Linked DNA regions of Homo sapiens: regions 1 and 2 are each linked to region 3. The links are contacts of gene promoters, found by promoter capture Hi-C in blood cells and fetal thymus (Javierre and others, 2016). All regions are on one chromosome and are shown on one strand. The core of a region is centred on a gene start or on the middle of the fragment in contact, and the rest is flanking DNA. Distances in the headings are between cores, read along the strand shown. Region 1 has its middle 6.7 kb from the start of OR1L4. Region 2 has its middle 12 kb from the start of OR1L6. Region 3 holds the start of OR1J4 (olfactory receptor family 1 subfamily J member 4).

Region 1 (3,677 bases), core at 966-3,465, 210 kb before region 3:
CATTTAATACTATAAATTTCCCTCTTAACACTGCTTTAGCTGCTTCCCAGAGATTCTGGTACGTTGTATATTTGTTCTCATTAGTTTCAAAGAACTTCTTTATTTCTGCCTCAATTTCACTATTTTCCTGAATATCATTCAGGAACAGGTTATGTAATTTCCATATAATTGTATGGTTTTGAGCAATTTTCTTAGTCTCAATTTCTAATTTGAATGTGCTGTAGCCTGAAAGAGTGGTTGTTATAATTTCAGTTCTTTTGCATTCGTGGAGGATTGTTTTATGTCTCAATTTTAGAGTATATGCCATGTGGTGATGAGAAGAATGTGTATTCTGTTATTTTTGGGTGGAGAGTTCTGTAGATGTCTATTAGGTCCATTTGATCCAGTGCTGAGTTCAAGTCCTGAATATCTTTGTTAATTTTCTGCTTTGATGATCTATCTAGTACTGTCAGTCGGTTGTTGAAATCTTCTGCTATTATTGTGTGGGAGTCTAAGTCTCTTGGAAAGTCTCTAAGAACTTACTTAATGAATCTGGGTGATCCTGTGTTGGGTGCATATATATTTAGGACAGTTAGGTCTTCTTGTTGAATTGAACCCTTTACCATTATATAATGCCCTTTTTGTCTTTTTAAAATCTTTGTTGGTTTAAGTCTGATTCATCCATAATTAGGATTGTAGCCTCTGCTTTTGTCTGTTTTCCATTTGCTTGGTATATTTTTCTCCATCCCTTTATTTCGAGCCTATGAGTGTGATTGTGTGTGAGCTGGGTCTCTTGAAGACAGCATACCATAGGGTCTTGGCTCTTTATTGAATTTGCCATTCTGTGCTTTTTAATTGGGGCATTTAGCCCATTGACATTCAAGGTTAGTATTGATATGTGTGGATTTGATCCTGTCATCATGATGTTAGCTGGTTGTTATGCTGATTTGTTTGTGTGTTTGATTTATAGTGTCACTGGTCTGTGTACTTTAGTGTGTTTTTGCAGTGTGTCTGGTAACAGTCTTTCCATATTTAGTGCTTCCTTCAGAAGCTCTTGTAAGGAAGGTCGGGTGGTAATAAATTCCCTCAGCATTTGCTTTTCTGAAAAGGATCTTATTTCTCCTTTGCTTATGAAGCTTAGTTTGGCTGGATATTAAATTCTTGGTTGGAATTTCTTTTCTTTAAGAATTTTGAATATTGCCCCCAATCTCTTCTGGTTTATAGGGTTTCTGCTGAGCATTCTTCTGTTAGTCTGATGGGCTTCCCTTTGTTGGTGACCTGACCTTTTTTTCTTGCTACCTTTAACATTTTTTCTTTCATTTCAACCTTGGAGAATCTGATGATTACGTGTCTTCGGGATGATCTTCTTGTAAAGCATCTTCCTGAGGTTGTCTGCATTTCCTGAATTTGAATGTTGGCCTCTCTAACTATGTTTGAGAAGTTCTCATGGATTATATCCTGAAAAATGTTTTCTGAGTTGCTTCCATTCTCCCCATCTCTTTCAAGGAAACCAATAGGCAGTAGATTTGGTCTCTTTACATAATCCCATATTTCTCAGAGGTTTTGTTCATTTATTTTCATTCTCTTTTCTCTATTCTTGCCTGTCTTAGAAAGCTAGACTTCAAGTTCTGATATTCTTTCCTCTGCTTGGTCTATTCTGCTATTAATACTTGTGACTGCATTATAAAATTCTTGTAGTGTGTTTTTCAGCTCTGTCAGGTTGGTTATATTCTTTTCTATACTGACTATTTTGTCTGTCAGCTCCTGTATCATTTTATTGTGATTCTTAGTTTACCTGGATTGAGTTTCAATACACTCCTCCATCTCAATGATCTTCATTTCTATCCATATTCTGAATTCTATTTCTGTCATTTCAGCCATCTTAGTCTGGTTCAGAACCCTCGATGGAGAGCTAGCATGGTTGTTTGGAGGGAAGAAGGCACCCTGGCTTTTCAAGTTGTCAGAATTCTTGTGCTGGTTCTTTCTCATCTTTGTGGGCTGATGCTCCTTCAATCTTTGAAGCTGCTTTCCTTTGAATGGTTTTTTTTTTCTTTTACCTTATTTAATGACCCTGAGGGTTTGATGGTGGTATAAGGTGGCTTCAGTTGACTGGCTTTGTTTCTAGAAGATATTAGGGGACCAAGGCTCAACTCCCCACTCCTGGACTGCATGCTCTAAATCTGGGGGACTGGTATTGGACCCTGACTTTGTTCTTGGTTCCTTGAGGTTAGGAACCCAGTGCACTAAGGCTGAGATGCTCCTGTACCACTGGTCACTACACCTCTATGGATGGTGCCAGCCAAAGCATTTCATGGGTGGTGGCAGTGGGATCCATCCTTGTTCGCATGTGCCAGCAGCAGCAGCAGCAGTGTCATATGGCAGGGTGCGTGATCATTGTCTGTGGCAGAGTACTTGCAGGTTCTGGGATGCTGGCCGCCCAGGCCTAGATTGCTCTGACATCATTAGACATTCACTATTGTTGAATGGGCAAAACCCTTTTAAGCCTTAACTTCTGTTCCTAAATTGGCCCACAACAAATTTTGGTGAGTACTTGCTAATTAATACTTGGGTTTTTCCTATTCTCAGCTCAGGTAGATACTGTTGGTTGCCTCTGTTTCCTCCTGCGCAGATTCTAAAAACATATGGATCATGTAACTGTTGGTTATTTGTCTCTAGCTTCCTGTATTTGGGGATTTATGGGAATTCTTTGTGTCTTCAAGTTGTTCTTGTTTTAGTGTTCTAGTTGTCCCATTTTCATGAGGCTACTTAGAGGGATTAAAAAATCTAAGCTGCCCTCCAAGGTCTAACAATCATATAATTAGAGCCCCACAAAGAGAGGAGAGAGTTTGGGGCAAAATGATATTTGAATAAACATTGGACTAAATTTTTCCAAATGTGAAGAAAAATATCTTTCCAAGATCCAAGAAGCTCAATAAACCCCAAGCCAGATAAACATAAATAATTCCATATACAGCTGAGCTATAGTCAAATTGTTAAAAACCAAAAATAAAATCAGCCAGGACAAAAAAACAATTTACCTAAGAGGGAAACAAAGATAAAAATGATAGCTGATTTCTCTTTAGAAGCAATGCAAGCCACAAAACAATAGAACAACATTGACACAAATTATAATCACTGTCTCCAGATTCTCACCTCCATTTATTCCTTAACATATTCCAATCTGGCTCCTTTTCCATTTCTCCATTGCCAATTCACCAAGGGCATCAATGACCACCATATCATTAAAGCCAATGAACAATCTTCAGGCTTACTTTGCTTATTAAACTTTCATCATATTTGGTCACTTATTAATAGCCCCTGCCTCTTGAAGCTTCCTCTTTTCTTGGATTCTGTGACTATTCCTATTAAGTCCCCCTCAATAATATATTCTCTATCAAACTTTTCAATGCCAGAAATACTTTTTATTCTTCTCTCACATTCTCCTCAGAACTCATGCTACACAGTGTTCCTAGTTGATATCATTTGCTCTAATAGACAGGCAACATATGTTCAATGAGCTGGATTTTTTTTTTAGTTCAGTATTGAGCAAAATCTCTAATATTTATGTTTTTGAAATGAACTTGCACTAAAAGGACTCAATACATTTATAATTCTTTTAACAAAGGACAGGCTTATAGTATTATTATTCTATTGTATTCTAGCATTCCACCTGATGTGGCAAGATGCTCAGAGGTCTG
Region 2 (3,992 bases), core at 140-2,639, 240 kb before region 3:
ATTTATTTGCTGGTGACTCTTTTAAAGCAAATTGCAGATATCGCATAAATTCATTGACCTACTTCAGGATGCATCTTTCAGAAATGAGAATTTAAAAATAAAAATATCATTATCCCTGAAAATAGTGGCATTAACTCATTGATATCATCTAATGCCTAAACCATATTCAATTTTTCTTGTCTTAAAAATTACTCTTTTCAGTTGATCTTTTCAAATCAGACTCCAAGTAATGTCCACATGTTACGTTTTTGTCATTGTGTTTTTTAATATATACCAGCCTCCTACCTTTTTGGTTATTATTTATTGGTACCCTATTATTAGTAATATTAAAATTAGCTGGTAATTCTCTACCTCTTCTCTGCCTCTCTCAAAATACCTGACTTAATACTTCTTAATTCCAAGTTAATAATTAATAGGCAATAAGTAAGCTTATTTTATTTTTTATATCCTCCTCTCATTATTCCCACATTTTGTTTATTGTTGTATGTAACTATATAGTCAGAGCATTTATCCATGAACAGTATTCTCTTACCTTGTAACCATCATTTAATGTTAGTTCTACAGTTAAATATATGCTTACTGTTTATCAACAGTTCTTAAGTTGATGTCTCTCCAGTCATTTTGGTTGTCTAAAGCTTGTTCTATGGTAAGTTCCTTAAGAGTTCTTGAATAGTGAAAGTGGCCCTTATATTTGAAAGTAATTTTAGTTGGATATGAAATCTTGACTCATCTATTCTTTTCTTGAGGATCTTAATATATTATTCTGTTGTTTGCTGTTGTTCTCATAATGTGTTTAAAGATAGGCCCTGTACTTTCTAAGATATCTGGCTTTGTTCCTCTTATTCATTTATGTCTCTAACTTTCCTTTTATTCCTAGATTTTTTTTTTTTATCTTGGTAAACCTTGGCTCTATTTTCTGATTTTATCCTTGGTGTGGGATTTGTACTGGAAGAGATTATTGGATGAGTAGCTTTGTGAGGTAATAAGGCCTAGACTGCTCCAGCATCACCAGGGCTTACTAAGGCCCCATTGAAATGACAGTAGAATGGACAAAACCCTTTCAGTCTCAGCTTCTGTTCTCAAATTGGCTCAGCACAAATTCCTGTGAGAAGTTACCAATTAATTTTTTTTCCCATTTTCAGCTCAGGCAGATAGTGTTGGTTGCCTCTGTTTCTTCTTGCTCAGATCTGACACCATGTGGGTCATATAGCTTTTGGTCTTTTGTTGCTACCTGCTTGTATTTTGGGCATTATAGGGATGTTTTGTGTCTTAAGAATTGTTATTCTTGTACTATTCTAGTTGTTTTACCTTTCTTTTATCAGACTATTCAGCGGGATTCAAACTTAAGCCACTACCAGAAGTCTAACAATCAAAAAATTCATAGATTGTTTGAGGATCTACTAATTGCAGAGAGGAGAGAAGGACTGGGGCAAAAAGACATTTAAAAAATATTGGGCTAAAAGTTATCAAATGTGAAGAAAAAAATCTATCCATAGATTTAAAAGCCTTAATAAACCCCAAGTAGGATAAACACAAAGAAATCCATATGTAATCAAATTGCTAAAAACCAAAAAATAAAACCAGTCAGAGCAAAAAGACGTATCACCTATAGGAGGACTAAAGATAAGACTTACAACTGATTTCTCTTTGAAAATAATGCAAGTCATAAGACCATGGAACAACATTGACACAGATTATAATCATTCTCTCCATTCTCACCTTCACTCATTCCTTAACACATCACAATCTGGCTCGTTTTCCATTTCTCCATTGCACATTCACCAAAGTTATGAATCACCACCATGTCACTAAAGCCAATGGACAACCTTCAGCCTTATTTTGTTAAACTGTCATCATATTTTGATACCAGTTAATGGCTCCTGCCTCTTCAAATTTACTCTTCTCTTGAATTCTATGACTACTCCTTTTAATTCCTCTTTGATAATGTTTTCTCTATTAGATTCTTCAATGCCAGAAATACTCTGCCCTCTTCCCTACTTTTTTCTTGGGTCTCATGCTACACACTCTTCCTAATTGTCATCACTTACTCTGATAAACAGGTAAAATATGTTCAGTGAACTGAATTCCCCTTATTTCAGTATTGAGCTAAATCTCAAATATTTGTATATATGTAATAAGCTTACATTGGAAAAACCCAATACATTTTTTTAAACTTTTTGTGTTTTGTCAACAAATGAGAGACCTATGGTATTATTTCTCTATTGTATTCAGCCAGCCTTCTGGATACCAATATGGTGAAACAAGGAGCTGGCAAGGAGATTCCTTGTCTACTCTCAAGGACTATGTAGCAGCATTTGAGACAATGTGACAAGATGTCCAGAGGCCTGTTGAAATCCCTCCCTGTGATTATATCTACCTTCATAATCTATTTATTTCCTCTTACTCATGCTTATTAGTGACTTTCTAGGTTGACTTCTGGACTCTCTTGATTGGACAGCAAAAATCTTACTACACTTTGTAGATACTCCTTGCTCATGGCAGTTCTTTCCTTCTGAAGAGTGACAGGATGTCTTGTGGGAAGTAGCTTCATATTTTGACAGAGAAAACACTCCAGCTCTGACTGAGAAGTTTAGGACTTACCTGAGGGTCAGAGTAGGAACTCTTTCATCCCAAAGTGCACTCTCGTGGTTAATTGTTATCTAGAATTTCCTTTTCTTTACACTTTTGGTAATATCTCTAGGATTATTCATAAAACATCTTTTATGATTTTTTTTTGCCATGCATTTGTTGAGAAAAAGAAGTCTGGGGCTGATGGCAATGTGAGATCAGAAATATCCATCTGACAAAGGTCAAATATCCAGAATCTACAAGGAACTTAAAAAATTTACAAGAAAAAAATAAACAACCCCATTAAAAAGTGGGCAAAAGACATAAACAGACACTTCTCAAAAGAAGACATTTACGCGGCCAACAAACATGAAAGAAAGCTCAACATCACGGTCATTAGAGAAATGCAAATCATAACCACCATGAGATACCATCTCATGACAGTCAGAATGGTGATTATTAAAAAGTCAAGAAACAACAGATGCTGGTGAGACTGGAGAAATAGGAACACTTTTATACTGTTGGTGGGAATGTAAATTAGTTCAACTATTGTGGAAGATAGTGTGCCAATTCCTCAAAGACCTAGAACCACAAATACCATTCAACCCAGCAGTGCCATTACTGGATATATACCCAAAGGAATATAAATTATTCTATTATAAAGATACATGCACACGTATGTTCATTGCAGCACTATTCACAATAGCAAAGACATGGTATCAACCCAAATGTCCATCAATGATACACTGCATAAAGAAAATGTGGTACATATACACCATGGAATACTATGAAGTTATAAAAAGGAACAAGATCATGTCCTTTGCAGGGACATGGATGGAGCTGGAATCTATTATCCTCAGCAAACTAACACAAGAACAGAAAACTGAACTCTGCATATTCTCACTTACAAGTGGGAGCTGAACAACGAGAAAACATGGACAGAGGGAGGGGAACAACCCACACTGCGGTCTGGGTGGGAGTGGGGAGGGAGAGCATCAGGATAAATAGCTAATGCATATGGGGCTTAATACCTAGGTGATGGGTTGATAGGTGCAGGAAACCACCATAGCACACGTTTACCCATGTAACAAACCTACACGTCCTGCACATGTATCCTGGAATTTAAAATAAGTTAAAAAAAAAAAAGTAAGTTAGTGTTCTCAGGACTAAAGAACTTAATTGGATTTATAAGTTAATGGTGGCATAATTAATGAATTTGTTTATTTAATGTATATGTAATATACATATAATTTATGAATAGATTTATTTAATATAGATATTCCTAACATTCTGAAGTAGCTAATTGAACTTGGTTGAGCATGAGAAAACTATGGCACATAAATTGAGTAAGTGGAAATGGTACATATCTTCTAGGCCAGCATCCCACAAACCAAATGATCAGTGAGAGATAGTGGTGAAAACCA
Region 3 (3,771 bases), core at 317-2,816:
TTCATTACCTGGAGTAAGTCTGCGGCGTGATTGAAGCTCACATGTGTAGTCAGAAAGCTTCATAAACATTGGTCTGAAAGTGAACTGTTGAATGAAAGTTATTGTAGTCTAGAAGAGGAACCTCAAGTTCTGAAGTGGAACAGCTGAACTTATGACAGTGAATAGCTTTTTGGATCTGTAAAGGGTACTATATAGTTTCTTCTCCTTACCCACCACCATCAGCAACAACAATAAAAAATGTGAGAAGAGAACTGAATGGGAAGAAAGAAAGGGAAATGCCTTTACAAGTACCCAATCCTTCAACTTTTCTATGGCAAGGGAATCCTGTTAGTCAACATATTTAAACAATTCCTAAGAACAAATAAATTTCCAGGAAATAAAATGAAGGATTTAAGTTCTGTTAACTATGTAATTTCTGAATCTAATAGGCAAGATAAATAAACAATTATGTAAACTCAGAATTCACAATTTGCACTAAAGAGGAAAAGGGAGAATAACTGTAACAGGATGCAATTCAAGTCATCAGAGAGTTACTGAGCACTTATCCCTTGCTGGGATCAGAAGTAAGGATCTATGATCTGGAAATAGGTCAGTACATATGTCTGTTATAAAGAAGAGTAAATGTCATTGAGATAAGACTGTTGCCCTGTTGAAGAGTCTCTCCAGGGCTCCCTTTATGTCCCTGTTCCTTAGGCTATAAATGAAGGGATTCAGCAATGGGGTGATCACCGTGTACATCACAGAGGCAATTACGTCCTTGTCACTGGAGGCACTGGATGAGGGGAGAAAATACAGTCCAATAATTGTGCCATAATACAGAGACACCACAGAGAGGTGAGAGCCACAGGTGGACAAAGCTTTGAAGATGCCCTTAGTAGATGGAGCCTTGAGGATGGTGACCCCAATGTGGCCATAAGAGATCAAGATGCATATTAGTGGTAGAGTAATGACTGCCTGTCCCACTGTGAAAATGACCAGCTCATTGAGGGAGATGTCTGAGCATGAGAGCTTGAGTAGGGCAACAAGATCACAGAAGAAATGGGGGATGGTGTTGTCAGCACAAAAGGACAGCTGGGCCAGGAGGAGAGTGTGAGACAGGGCATTGGTACAGGAGAGGATCCAGGACACAGTGACTAGTAAGTTACACAGTCCCTCTTTCATGATAGTGGTGTAGCGGAGGGGGTGACAGATGGCCACATACCGATCGTATGCCATTGAAGTGAGAAGGAAATTGTCTAGATCAGTGAAAAATATGAAAAAATACATCTGAGTTACACACCCTGCATAAAGAATGGATTGATCCTGAGTTTGCATGCTTAATAACATCTTTGGGACAGTGACAGATGAAAGGGAGATGTCAGTGAGAGCCAAGTGGCTGAGGAAGAAGAACATGGGGGTGTGAAGGTGAGAGTCCAGCCGGATGAGCAGGATGATGAGCAGGTTCCCCAGCACCGTGATCAGGTACATGCCCAAGAACAGGGTGAAGAACACAGCCTGCTGCTCTGGCCAGATGGGGAGGTCCAGGAGGAGGAACTCAGACACACTGCTCTGATTCTCCCTCTTCATGCTGACAGTCTTCTCTCTGCTGGAAATAGAGGGACATTGAAAAAGGCAGAAACAAACAAATGTTGATTTACAGCAGCAGATAAGAATAAGATCCTTGCTACTGATGAATATGCCAATGTCTGTCTACATTGCTATGTCCCTACAAAAAATCATTTCAAGTAGATGGTTTTATCACTCAAAATGGGATAATTCGCCAAGAGAGTAGAGGGTTTGAAATAGAAGAGAAGACCAGCCATGTCTAGTCAGTAAAGAGAAAGCTTCACACCGTATTAGCAGATGGATCGTAAGATAACGTCTTTCCAATTTCCATTGTTTATGTACTTTTAAAAACAATCATCAGGCTAGTCATGAGCCTTCATGTTGTAACATATTGAACTTTTTAAAATTTGACTTCAAAATCTATTAGTAAGCAACATATAGGGATGAAGTTTCCATAACACATATCCAAAAGAAATTGGATCAAAGATAAACAGCCAAAGTTTTCATTATGTATAAAGTTGATGAGAAAAAAAACTTGTCTATTGATTACAATATCACTGCCATAAAAAAAGTAAATCTTACACAAAATATTTAAAGGTGAGAGCTTCAGGAGGTAATTAGGTCATGAGGGTAGAACCCCATGAATGGGATTATTGCCCTTATAAGAAGAAACACAAGAGTGTCTCTGGCATTGCCATGTGAGGACTCAGCAGGAAGGCAGCCATCTGCTAACCAGAAAGTGGACCCGCACCAGAAACCAAATCTGCTGGTACCTTGATCTGGGGCTTCCCAGGCTCCAGAACTGTAACAAATAAATGTCTGCTGTTTAAAGTCACCCAGCTATAGCAGCCCAACCGACTAAGACACTCAGTAAACTAAATAATACAGTAAACACCATACCTAGTGGAGACATTTTAAAGCATTTCCATTAAAATCAGGAATGAGAAAAATATGCCAGCTTCCTCCACAGCCACTATCTACCCATTAAAATATTCTAAAGCCATGGCATATATGTGCCACATTTTCTTTATCCAGTCTATCATTGATGGACATTTGAGTTGATTCCATGTCTTTGCTATTGGGAATAGTGCTGCAATGAACATACATAAAAAGGAATGAGACCATGTCCTATGCAGGGACATGGATGGAGCTGGAAGCCATTATCCTCAGCAAACTAATGCAGGAACAGAAAACCAAACAACACATGTTCTCACTTATAAGTGAGAGCTGAACAATGAGAACACAGGGAGGAGAACAATACACACTGGGACCTGTCTAGGGAGCTTGAGGGGGTGAGAGCATCAGGAAAAAGAGCTAACGAATGCCAGGCTTAATACCTAGGTGATGGGGTTGATAGGTGCAGCAAACCACCATGGCACACGTTTACCTGTGTAACGAACCTGCACATCCTGCACATGTACCCTGGAACATAAGAAAAAAAAAACACCTCAAAAAGATATTCTAAACCTAAGTTACCAAATCCTGCAAGGCCAGTAGGAATGAGTTTATAGTGCCACTGTGTCTTAATTGAAAAGTTCCCTTTAAGTCAAAAAGCAATGCCAAATGCCTAATATATATACCAACGTATACTAAGTAAATAGAAAATGTGAGGATTTCATTATAACAGTTCTTAATTGGGAGAAAAATTCAGAAGAGCTTTGTACAGGTTAAGGATAGGCTTAAAATTCTTTGCTTCTTTAAGCTGGTGAGTTGAGCATACTCCTATTTCATATGAGAATACCATCCTTCCTTTGAAACTTACCAAAAGGCAGCCAACATAACAGAGTTCCGAATGGACCCATAGAGAAAAGGGGCAAGAATGCCTGGCCCAGGTTCCCCGGCTGCACCTGCTCACTCCAGCATTTTAAGGCTCCCTGGGGCTGTGACCTTAAGGATAGAGCCTAGTGTCTGAGGGTAGTATGTTGTACTGACAAAAGCATTGCAATTAGCCCTAGATTCAAGTCCTGGCAACATCACTTCATATCTTCATATTTGTGAGTTCTGGAGAAGTGATCCAGTTGGCCTGAGCTTCAGTTTTCTCATCTCTAATCTGGAGATGAGACTATGAGCCTAAGTCATGAGAATATTGTGAATATTAATAAGAAAACATTTGTGAAGAATGACTGCATACAATCTGAACCAATTTATATCAGTTTCTCACCTGCCATTTCCTGAGTCTCCTTTATTTCTCCCTCCTGATTGCCCACTCCTTTCAACAGGCAGATA

What was found. The method cuts DNA at HindIII sites, captures the fragments that hold promoters and counts their contacts. A CHiCAGO score of 5 or more calls a contact.
Region 1: a contact is called between a fragment that was not itself captured here and the fragment with the promoter of OR1J4 in region 3, in 1 of 17 cell types (endothelial precursors). The highest score is 5.7, in endothelial precursors.
Region 2: a fragment that was not itself captured here is called in contact with the fragment with the promoter of OR1J4 in region 3 in 8 of 17 cell types (endothelial precursors, M2 macrophages, megakaryocytes and 5 more); the score reaches 9.1 in endothelial precursors.

What each region holds. Positions count from the first base shown.
Region 1 is chr9:122,728,881-122,732,557 of GRCh38, reverse strand. No RefSeq gene overlaps it. Among named protein-coding and RNA genes, the nearest start is that of OR1L4, 6.7 kb to the right of the region's middle. The HindIII fragment of the contact is 2,195 bases long and covers 1,118-3,312 here.
Region 2 is chr9:122,752,707-122,756,698 of GRCh38, reverse strand. No RefSeq gene overlaps it. Among named protein-coding and RNA genes, the nearest start is that of OR1L6, 12 kb to the right of the region's middle. The HindIII fragment of the contact is 1,504 bases long and covers 638-2,141 here.
Region 3 is chr9:122,516,936-122,520,706 of GRCh38, reverse strand. It overlaps OR1J4 (olfactory receptor family 1 subfamily J member 4), which reads right to left and starts at 1,566. Exons shown (of 1, transcript NM_001004452.1): 1 at 625-1,566. The coding sequence starts at 1,566. The coding sequence ends at 625. It also overlaps a transcript of OR1J2 not described here. The HindIII fragment of the contact is 966 bases long and covers 860-1,825 here.